Regions from separate parts of the Homo sapiens genome. Here regions 1 and 2 are each linked to region 3. The links are contacts of gene promoters, found by promoter capture Hi-C in blood cells and fetal thymus (Javierre and others, 2016). All regions are on one chromosome and are shown on one strand. The core of a region is centred on a gene start or on the middle of the fragment in contact, and the rest is flanking DNA. Distances in the headings are between cores, read along the strand shown.

Region 1 (3,642 bases), core at 446-2,945, 670 kb before region 3:
AGCATCAGATCTTCCTAGCACTATGCATATCAAGCTCAGTTACAGAAGGACAGGACTTACGGGCACTTTCTAATCAAAGGACTCCGAAAATGTAGGCACTATCTCTTAAAGTTCTTCAGAAAACAGTTTCAGATTCTACAAAAGATTTCCGAAGAATGTATCAACACCAAAAGGAAAATCATAACACTTCACTCTGATATCTGTCTGAGAGGCTAGAAGAGTGCTCCTTGATTTTTTTTAAACCAACAGCATATCAACAAAGAGGCCTTCTTTCCATTCTTTGCTTCAAATAATTTTTTCACATCCGTTATTGGTTTGTATTCGCCCTTAAACCAAAACTAAACAGATCACACTGTCTCATTTAGGACCCCCATACACAAAGAATCAGCTACGTAAAGATGAAAATCAGCACAAGCTGAACGTGTCACTGATGATTTGTGTGTCACACATAAATGGAGAAAAACATAAAAGAGCTATTGTCCAATTGTAGAAACAAAAAAGTAATATGGGGTTTTCTGTTCTCTGAAGTGCATCATGAAAAGTGGGTGGAGAGAAACACAGAAATCCAGAATTAGCCTAGCAAATCATTTTGGGAAGAGCTGACAACATGTAAATTCCTCACACATAAAGTATTTCGAGCAAGAGACCTTGATTCCTGGGCTATGATGCCATTCAGGATTCCTTGCAAAGGCTCTGGAATTCCAGTATTCATAAAAGAAAATGCTCATTATAATCGGAGCGTAAGAGGTACTCCCAACGTGACAGCCTGTATGAAGTATTACAAAGCTTACAGTTAAGATCTGGGATAGAGGCTGAACACCAAATTCAAAAGAGGTAACCAAGGCACTAAGTGCCATAAAGGAGGAAAGGGGAAGAAAAAAAAATCCACTATTGCCACTCAGCCACAGAGAATTAAAGTGGAAACCAGGGGTGTGCATGGGGGAGGATGAGGGGTGAGAAGTGCGGGGGGTGTGGTGGAGGAACAAACAATACATTTGTCACCCCGTCCCACTTCCTATAGAGGATACAGGCAAAGCCTCCAGCCTCATTACCTCGGACACAGATGGTTATCGTTTATAGCAAAGGTGCACAAAAAGGCCTTCAGGTCTGAGCCCCTTAATTCCAGGGCTGTTAATGATTAAAGAGAACGATGGGGGTGGGGAGGGAAATGAGGGCGGAGGGAGCTGGGAGATTCACCCACCACCTCCCCCTAGGGCTCCTACCTCACAGCGCTCACCCAGGACAGAGGACCAGAGTCTGCACCCCCTCCAGGGCAGCTCCAACCCCATATCCCCAGGCCCTGGGTTGAGGGGTGCTGGCGGTGGGGAGGCAGGGACAGTAGGTAAGTTTTCTGAGCCCTGCGGCTGACACGCCACAGGCTCCCCTCACAGCCTCTTCTTTCAGAGGTACCACTCCAGACAACGCGCTGACTTCCACTCCTCCCTTTCCACCCCCCTTTCTCGAAGGTACCCAACCCCCGCCCCTTCATCTCTCAATGCCCCCCCGCCTTTTCCTCAACTCCCCCCCTCCCCAAAACTCACAGCTGCTCCAGAGGTTCCTCCAGTCAAACCCTTTCTGGAAACGACGGCGGCCCGGCGGGTCCAAACCACCTACCATCCCCGCTCGCGTTTCCAGGCTCCCTACCCCCGCCGCCGCCGCCTCTTCTTCCACCACTGCCACCGCCTCCTCTTCATCTGCGGCCCACCGGCGGCGGCCGCCCCGAAGCCCCGCCCCCTCCATCGCCTCCTGCATCATCACTTCCGGTAACCCCGCCGGCCGCCAGCTCCAGGAGGGAGAATGGGAGAGGGGCAAGGAGGGAACGAGTGGAAGATTGCGTCACGACGCACATAAAGACGTACGAAGCCGTCGCCAAGTAAGGGCAAAGACCTAGCAACCCGGAGGGAGCTGGGCTGGACCATTTTTTTTTCTTGTTTTACGGGAATGGAGCGGGGAGGATAATGAAAGCGTAAAGGAAAAATAGGGGGAGGAGGAGCTCAGCTTATTGTTGGATGCGGCGGGAGATGGGTAGAGTCAGTCAGTCGAGACTCCCCCAGACCTGGAACTGGTGCTCCCACAGAGGTGGGCCCGGTGGTTTGGTCCGGCCTGGCCTACTGGACCAGCCTGTGCTCGGTCGGCCACGGCTCTGCTGGGCTCCTGGCGCCGCCTCCTCCCAGCCCGCCGCGGGCTGCGCGCTTCTGTGGGTGGGGGAAGGCAGGACTGACGCAGAGTGAGTGTAGGGGATGGAGGCGCCGACTCCAGGCGCGGGAGACTGGCGGGGAAGGGGTTGGCTCCCCACGGGCAGGGATGGTTTGGAGGTTGGGCTGCGGCGTTGCCGGGAGACGGGCCTGTGTGACCCCAGCTTCGCGGGGGCGGCTCGGTGTCATCGCCACCGGCCTCGGGGACCTGCCTCACGGAAGTGGCTCGCGCGTCCAAGAGGGGAGGCCTGGTGTGGGGACGCTCAGGTGCCGGCGTGGGGCCCCCTCGGAGGCTGTGAATCTTTTGGACCCCCGAATGTAAATGGGAGATGGTAGGGGCCGGTCCGGGGGCGAGAGGTGTCTGGCTGGGGAACGTTGACCCACACCAGGTCCCGTACAGGAACGGAGACTCCCTAGGACCGTGAGAGCCAGCTTCGTAATTCTCTTGCTCTTCAAACCTGAGAGTAGGGTGTTGCTCCGTTACCTTCCATTCGTGTGCAGGAGAGAGTTAAGTAAATCAATAAAGAAGGTATCAGCAAGTGAGAAATGCCCCCCAAAGACCGGATGAGGTGACAGAAGATGGGGGGAGGGCCCCTCGAAATCGGGTAAGGTCGTTCAAAGGAGGCCACGGTTTTGCGGGGATCCGAGACAATGGGTTTTCTGGGTGGAGAGAAGAGCCAATGAGAAGGACTTTTAGGTTGGAAACAGCCAGAAGGCCATGTGGCTGAAGCAAACAGAGCCAGGGCCGGAGTGCCCTGTGATGTAGTTGGGGAAGTGGCATGACTGTAGCAGCGCCTTTTAGCCCAAGGCAGGGGTTTGGCTAATGTGTACCTTAAGGGTTTTAAGAAGGGAAGTGACCTGACCTGATTTACATTTTTAAAAATCCGCTCTGCCTGCTGGATAGAGAAGGGTGGAAGTAGTTAGACCTGTTAGGAGACTGTTGCACTGTAAGACAAAGGAGAGGTGAAGATAGTGTTGAAAGGGCCGGCCGGGCGCGGTGGCTCACGCCTATAAACCCAGTACTTTGGGAGGCCTAGGCGGGCGGATCACGAGGTCAGGAGATCGAGATCATCCTGGCCAACATGGTGAAACCCCATCTCTACTAAAAATACAAAAATCAGCTGGGCGTAGTGGCACGCGCCTGTAATCTCTGCTACTCAGGAGAATCGCTTGAACCCGGGAGGTGGAGGTTGCAGTGAGCCAAGATCGCGCCACTTCACTCCAGCCTGGGCAACGGAGTGAGACTCCGTCTTAAGAAAAAAGAAAAGGCCCTCAGTCACAGTGGAAATGGAGAGAATTCCATTCAGCATATATTTGGGAGGTAGTGCTTGCAGGACTTGCTGGGGAATTGGATGTGAAGTGTGTAGGAGAGGGAGGAACCAAGGTTAACTCCCTACGGGAAAACAGTTTAGAAAGGAATATCGAAAGTTCTCTTTTGAACATATTA
Region 2 (3,601 bases), core at 685-3,184, 760 kb before region 3:
TACCTGTAGTCCCAACTACTCAGGAGGCTAAGGTGGGAGGATTGCTTGAGCCCGGGAGGTGGAGACTGCAGTGAGCCGAGATCATGCCACTGCACTCCAGCATGGGCAACAGAGCGAGACCCTGTCTCAAAAAAATAAATAAATAAAATAAAATAAGAAAAAAAGAGAAGAGCTTACTGAGGTCTTAAGTGCAAGTAAAACAAACTACTTGGTATTAGCAGGTAGAGTTTTAACTAGGCAGACACCTCCTGTAGTTTTCTGTGTTTGCTAAGAGTGGGAAGTGCCAGGATTTGGGAATAATAAATATCATTTATTGACTGCTTACTACATAGCAGGTACTAAAATTAAACTAAGATGATGGCCTCCTTTAATCCTCAACAAGTGTAGTAGCTAGAAACTTTTCCTACCTATATTTTATGGATGAGAAAACTGATTCTTAATTTGCCAAAGAACATAGCTTTGGTATGTGAACCCAAGACTGTCCAATTCTGAAGCTCATGCTATTTGCTATTATATTACATCTTTCTAGTAATCAGAAATATGCACAGCGCATCCAGGAATCAGGGAGGACACAATAATTCATATTGTGAATTAAAAGGATCACTAGGCCAGGCACCGTGGCTCACACCTGTAACCCCAGCACTTTGGGAGGTTGAGGCGGGTGGATCACCTGAGGTCGGGAGTTCGAGAACAGTCTGACCAACATAGAGAAACCCCATTTCTACTAAAAATACAAAATTAGCTGGGTGTGGTGGTGCATGCCTGTAATCCCAGCTACTTGGGAGGCTGAGGCAGGAGAATGACTTGAACCCGGGAGGCAGAGGTTATGGTAAGCCGAGATCGCACCACTGCACTCTAGCCTAGGCAACAAAACTCCGTCTCAAAAAAAAAAAAAAAGATCACTAGAAAATGGGTTTGTAAAAAGTAGAGGTTCCTCTTCAAAGACTTCCTTCCCCGTCTAATTAGGAATAAATAGTAACTTCTCTTAGAGCAAAATTTATTCAAAGACCTGTGCTAACATTCTTAAATATCTGCTAGATATAATAAAGAAATCAATGTACTTTATGTTCTTAGCTCCCACAATTTAGCCTAAATATTTGCCCTGGCATGCTTATACTGGTCCAATCAAACATTAGGTCATAGCCTGTTCCTCTTCCTTACTTAAAAGTGTTTTTACCTTTCTCAGCATTCCACAAGTTACTTCCTTCTTCCTTTGTTCTCCTCTGCCTTTGCCTCTTTTAAAAAGTTCTATGTTGCTAGTCAGTCGGGACAAATACAGAATGTGAGGTCCCGTTCCAGCCAAAGGAAACCGGACACAGCAGTAGGGTGGACGCGCCACGTTATAAATGACCCTGTCTCCTTTGTTCAGTGTACTCTCCTGGCAAAACTGCTGGCGAGTGTACCCTTTCTGCAGGAAGTAAAAATGGCCTTACTAAATAAATTAAATTTAAGTTTAAGTTCTATTTCTTTACAGCACCGAGGAACGAGCATTTCGAACAGGTTGAACACCTTGACAGATTCAGTGTGTGGCCTGCCTGAGACCTCCAACCAGTCTGCAGGGCACTGTCACGTCCAGTCGTTTCCCAAGGCCTAAAATAGGCAGGCACTGGCTCAAGGCCACACAGTCAAGGCCCCAGGGTTCGTCCGCCTCGGGCTCCTGTCACCCTCGGGTAGAAGGTGGCCCAAGGCTGAAGACCGAGGTCCAGGGAGGCGCCTTTCCAACCGTGCCAGAGAGGGCAGGTCGCAGACGCCGGGGCTGCGGGGAATAGAGGCCCTCACCGCAGATGCCACCTGCCGTGCCCTGCTCTGCGGCCAACGCCAGCGCTGGACCCGGAGCTACCCGCCCCCGACCCGGAACTCCCTCGAGTACCGCGCGAGCCGCTTGGTCGCCATTCCCGACACTCCTTGCTTTTCCAAGTCCAGCTGCCGGAAGTCGCTCGACTTCTACTTCCGGTCCGTTCAAAAAGCCCGCGAGGCTGAGGGGCGGTTGTTGTTGGCAGCTGTGGCTAAGGAGGGGAGAACCTCTGCTCCCCGCCCGTCTTCTCTTCTGCGTTTCCCGGGCTAGGGGGCGTGGGGAGTGGTTTTAGGCGGCGAAGCCGCTCGGCAGCACCTTCCTTCTTTGCCAGGCAGACGCCCGTTGTAGCCGTTGGGGAACCGTTGAGAATCCGGTAACCGATGCGGACGGTAAAGCCGTTTGGGTTAGAGCGGCGCGGGTGTCCAGTCCGCGGAACGGGGAGATCGTTGGCACCTTCGCTTTTTTAGGGGAACGGGGATAGTTCGGTAAACTGAATTGAGAAGCGGATCCGAGGGAGGTTGAAAGCTGTCAAGCCCGTGTAGCTCTCCCGCTAGGAGGCGGCACGCGGGGGAATAGGGGCGCTGGAGTTTCCCCAGCTCTACCTCATCTTTCTCCACAGCCATGGAGCCAGAGAGGGAAGGGACCGAGAGACACCCCAGGAAGGTCAGGGAAAGCAGGCAGGCCCCAAATAAGCTGGTCGGGGCAGCTGAGGCGATGAAAGCCGGTTGGGATCTCGAGGAGAGTCAGCCCGAGGCCAAGGTGAGCAACGGGGATCCCGAGCAGGCGGCCCTAGGCGGTTTGGAGCTCCCGGACCCTCGCCCAACCGCCGTCGGGGGCACTGGATTCGGGCGGGCTCTCCGCCCTGGCCTCTCCGAACCTGATCCCTGATCATTAAAATGGGAATGAGTGTAATACCACCTTCCTGCAACAAGGCTGTCATTGGCTGTCACTGGGATAGTGAGTCGGCCGAGTGCGGTGGCTCATGCCTGTAATTCCAGCACTTTGGGAGGCCGAGGCGGGCGGATCACGAGGTCAGGAGTTCGAGACCAGCCTTGTCAACATGGAGAAATCCCCGTCTCTACCAAAAACACACACACAAAATTAGCCAGGCGTGGTAGTGGGTGACTGTAATCCCACCTACTTGGGAGGCTGAGGCAGGAGAATCGCTAGAACCCAGGAACCAGAGGTTGCAATGAGCCAAGACCACGCCATTACACTCCACCCTGGACAACAAGAAAGAAATCACGTCTCAGAAAAAAAAAAAAAAAAAAAAAAACTGGGATGGTGGGCCGGGTGCAGTGGCTCACGCCTGTAATCCCAGCAGTTTGGGAGGCCAAGGCGGGAGCATCATTTGAGGCCAGGAATTCAAGACCAGCCTGGGCAATATAGCAAGGACCCCATCTCTTAAAAAAAAAAAACAAAAAACAAAACAAAAAAAAAACTGCCTGTACATAATAGGAATGTTCATCGATATCCTGGGGCACAAAAATACAATTCCTTGCCCTCGTGCAGTTTACATTCCAGTAGGGCGGGGGTCCCCAACCCCCTGTGCACAGACTAGTACCTGCCTGTCCATGGGGTCCCCAACCCACTGTCCACAGCTGGCCTGTTAGGAACCGGGCCACAAAGCAGCAGGAGGTGAGCGGTGGCCGATAGAACGTTACCCCCTGAGCTCCACCTAGGCATTAGATTCTCATAGGAATGTGCCAAACCTATTGTGAGCCCTATTGTGAACTTTGCATACGAGGGTCCTAGGTGGCATGCTGCTTATGAGACTCTAATGATAAATGTAATGCACTTGAATCA
Region 3 (3,842 bases), core at 573-3,072:
AAATGAAGTAAAAGGGTCCAGACAGTAATATTTTAGAATTCTGTTACCTGCGGGTGGATACTTTCTTCTTTTGAGAATAGAAGATTAGGCTGGGTGCAGTGGCTCATGCCTGTAATCCCAGCACCTTAGAAGGCTGAGGCAGGCAGATCACTTGAGTCTAGGAGTTTGAGACCAGCCTGGGCATCATAGCAAGACCCCGTCTCTACTAAAAATACAAAAAAAAAAAAGTAGCTGGCTGTGGTGGTGTGTGCCTGTAATACCAACTACTCAGGAGGCTGAGGTAAGAGAATCACTTGAACCCAGGAGGTGGAGGTTGCAGTGAGCCAAGATTGTGCCACTGCACTCCAGCCTGAGTGACAGAGCAAGACTCTGTCAGAAAAAAGAAAGAAAAGAGAGAGAGAGAAAGGAAGAGGGGAAGGGAAGGAAGGGAAGGAAGGAAGAGAGAGAGGAAGGAAGGAAGAGAGAGAGAGGAAGGAAGGAAGGAAAAGGAAGGAAGGAAGGGAACAGAAGATTAGTTGAGCATAGTGGCTCAGTGCCTGTAATCCCAGCACTTTGGGAGGCCGAGGTAGGCAGATCATTTGAGCCTAGGAGTTCAAGACCAGCCTGGGAAACATGGCAAAATCCCATCTCTACAAAAAATAGAAAAATTAGCTGGGCATTGTGGCATGCATCTGTAGTCCCAGCTACTTGTGGGGCTGATGCAGGAGGGTCACTTGAGCCCAGGAGGCAGAGGTTGCAGTGAAGTATGATTATGCCACTGCACTCCAGCCTAGGTGGCAGAGTGAGACTCTGTCTCAAAAAAAAAAAAAAAAAAAAGAAGATTGTGAGCAAAAATTGAATGCAATTTTTTTCATAAGCAGAGGTGTAATGGTTATTATTACAAAAGATGATATTAAATTTATTTATGTATTATCTCTTTGCCTCCACCAGAATGTAAGCTTTGTTGAAGGCAAGGATCATTGTTGATTTATTTACTCTGTATCCCAGGCATCTAAAACAGTAAGTGTGCAATAAATATTTGTTGAATGAATCAAAGCATAAGCAAGGCTTCAGATTCATTTTTCTATCAGAGATTCATTTAAAAATGTTAAGGAAATGAGAGGTGAAGACATCCTAAAGGCATAATACTCAAAGTAGTCAGTAGGTTCATTGATAACCCAGAGGAAAATATATAATATTATAGAGGAAAAGAAATTCTCTGAAATCATGGCATCTCTCCTAGCTTGGGATAACATTTTAGCAGAAAGACCGAAGAACTCTTCCAAGAAACATCAAGCAATTAAATGAAGTAGTAGAAAAATCACCAGTACTTTAAAGTAGATGAAGCCATTAAAATAGTTGCAGCTTCAGTAATCACCATGTAAGCCTGTAAGTGGTGGGTCTTAGACCACAACATGGTAGTTATCAAATTGCTTTATTCATCGAAATGTTCATTCTCCTGGCTGCCCTTGAACTTCCAGCCTAAGGCTTTCTCTCTGCAGGGTTGTCAGCATGCTCATGCAAGGCTTTGCCTCTGCAGATTATCAGAGGTGTACTCCATGCCCCTCTCACCATGAAAAAAGGGAGAAAAAGACAATTTCGTCTCAGAGATAGAAAATCTCCCAGAGAGAACCCCTGGCAGCTGGAATCCATTTTTTTCCCCCTGAAGCTGGAATCTGTTATAACTACAGAACACTGAAGGATAATGAGGTTCTGCTGCTAAGCAAATGCTGGGACAAAAAGCACAGAGGTGCTGCAGCCAGGCAGAGACTGGGCTTTTCATGAAACCCTGTGTCTCTGAGCACATATTGCAATAATTCTCTGACTAGCTGCTCAAGGCCTTGGCTTCGTGGCTTTTTACTCCGTTTAAAGGTCTTGATCAGGCCACTTCCGTTTTTAATGTTTGAGAAATGTCTGATTTATGCTGCTTCAAAGTGGAACTTGGGTTTCTATTACCTTTTTGGCACCTTGCACCCATTGTTGGCCTAATTCTGCTGTCTCGTCTATCTTGTGGTTCCTATCAGTAAACAAAGTCCAGGAGAGGCGTCATGCTTGTGAACACCTCCAACATCAAGTTCAAAAGTACAATCATGACCTTGTCCTGTCGTTCTCAGAATCTGGGCTCAGCTATTTCAAACCTCCCATGTCTTCACTGGTAGTGGTCAATTAGAAATCACTGAATCCTTTCCCTAGAGTGGTCAGAGACAGCCAGTTTATGGTAATTTGGGCACAAGTGCCAATTGGAAAGGTGCATTATTCAAACCACTTTGGCTACAAGTGACAGAAATTCAATGCAGGTTAGCTTAAATAAAAAAGGAATTCGGGCTGGGAACAGTGGCTCATGCCTATAATCCCAGCATTTTGGGAGGCCGAGGCGGGTGGATCACCTAAGGTCAGAAGTTCTAAACCAGCCCGGGCAACACGGTGAAACCCTGCCTGTACTATAAATACAAAAAATTAGCCAGGCATGGTAGTGCACGCCTGTAGTCCCAGCTACTCTGGAGGCTGAGGCAGAAGAATCACTTGAACCCGGGAGGTGGAAGTTGCAGTGAGCCAAGATCACGCCACTGTACTCCAGCCTGGGCGACAGTGAGACTCTGTCTCAAAAAAAAAGAAAAAAAGAAAAAAAAGGGAATTTATTGGCTTCTGTAGCTGAAAAGTCAGGCAGATTTGGATCTCAAATTATGTCATTAACTAGTTTCTCTGACTTACCCTCTGCGTTGTGTATAAGCTTTTCATCGCATGGCAGCAAGATACCTCCATGTTCACATAGGGCTAACAGCCCAAGATGGTGAGGAAACATGCACTTTTGTTCCAGTAGCACAGAAAAAGTCCCCAGGTGGACGCTAATGGGCACTGTATGAGTCAAGTGCTCATGGCTGAGGCAGTAGTTGTACCTTGACACATGAAGTCCTCTGACCAGATCTGGGCATGTACCTGACCTTGGGGATGGAAGTGAGGCAGTCCAGCTCCACCAACTCGTAAGGACTGAGACAGTTTACTAGGGAAGAGGGGAAAGCGTGTTTCTTACAGGAAGAAATGCGGGCAGACAAAACACCATATACCCCTTAAATTAGGTTTTCCACAGATAATTGAGGTGGAGCAGAAGGGTAACCACATTTTGACAGCATCATCAGTATGTGGTGAGTGGCCCAGCATTTGACCCTGGCCTCTGTGGTCATCTCAGAGCCCAGAAAGTAGCAGCAGAAGAGCAGAGCATGGGTAGGTAACCATCAGTTCTTGGATAACTGAAGGGTGATCTTGAGGAGCAGTGAGTCTGTGGGATGGCCATGCCTAACAAATGTCATCCAGTTCAGAGCACCAAGGACATTCCCAGCTATGGCTTTTATCTTTTATCTTCTTCTTCTTCTGGTTTTGCTCTGTCACCCAGGCTGGAGTGTAGTGGCATGATCTCGGCTCACTGCAACCTCTGCCTCCCAGGTTCAAGCAATCCTCCCACCTCAGCCCCCTGCGTAGCTGGGACTGCAGCTGAGCGCCACTACACCCAGCTAATTTTTGTATGTTTTGTAGAGATGGGGTTTCACCATGTTGATCATGCTGGTCTTGAAGTCCTAGGCTCAAGCAATCTGCCTGCCTTGGGCTCCCACAATGTTGGGATTACAGGCATAAGCCACCATGCCTGGCTCCAGCTGTGGCTTTTAGAGGAGGAGGTAGTGGTGGCCGGAGGTTTTGCACATGATTCTAGGCAGAACCCTCCTAGTTAATGCCTACTTGTCCTTTAGAACTCAGCTCAAATATTTCCTCTGGGGAGCATTCTCTGGCCTCCACTTGCCCAGCATGAGCCAGACCCTCTAACAATGAGCTCTCATTTAATACCTTGTTTTTCTATCATAGCACTTTCT

The links. Contacts are between HindIII fragments. The CHiCAGO score rates a contact against its expected background, and 5 or more counts as called.
Region 1: the fragment with the promoter of DCUN1D3 here is called in contact with a fragment that was not itself captured in region 3 in 2 of 17 cell types (neutrophils and naive B cells); the score reaches 7.2 in neutrophils.
Region 2: a contact is called between the fragment with the promoter of ERI2 here and a fragment that was not itself captured in region 3, in 3 of 17 cell types (naive B cells, naive CD8 T cells and total B cells). The highest score is 6.1, in naive B cells.

The regions. Positions count from the first base shown.
Region 1 is chr16:20,898,663-20,902,304 of GRCh38, forward strand. DCUN1D3 (defective in cullin neddylation 1 domain containing 3) reads right to left here and starts at 1,696. Exons shown (of 3, transcript NM_173475.4): 1 at 1,542-1,696. LYRM1 (LYR motif containing 1) reads left to right here and starts at 2,109. Exons shown (of 4, transcript NM_001128302.3): 1 at 2,109-2,227. RefSeq lists enhancers at 1,256-1,305, 1,515-2,300, 2,301-3,086. The HindIII fragment of the contact is 5,697 bases long and covers 785-3,642 here.
Region 2 is chr16:20,804,538-20,808,138 of GRCh38, forward strand. ERI2 (ERI1 exoribonuclease family member 2) reads right to left here and starts at 1,935. Exons shown (of 9, transcript NM_001142725.2): 1 at 1,871-1,935. The coding sequence starts at 1,893. REXO5 (RNA exonuclease 5) reads left to right here and starts at 1,990. Exons shown (of 20, transcript NM_030941.3): 1 at 1,990-2,168; 2 at 2,415-2,554. The coding sequence starts at 2,417. RefSeq lists enhancers at 1,131-2,076, 1,825-1,934, 2,655-2,794. The HindIII fragment of the contact is 22,874 bases long and covers 1-3,601 here.
Region 3 is chr16:21,564,145-21,567,986 of GRCh38, forward strand. No RefSeq gene overlaps it. Among named protein-coding and RNA genes, the nearest start is that of METTL9, 34 kb to the right of the region's middle. The HindIII fragment of the contact is 1,772 bases long and covers 937-2,708 here.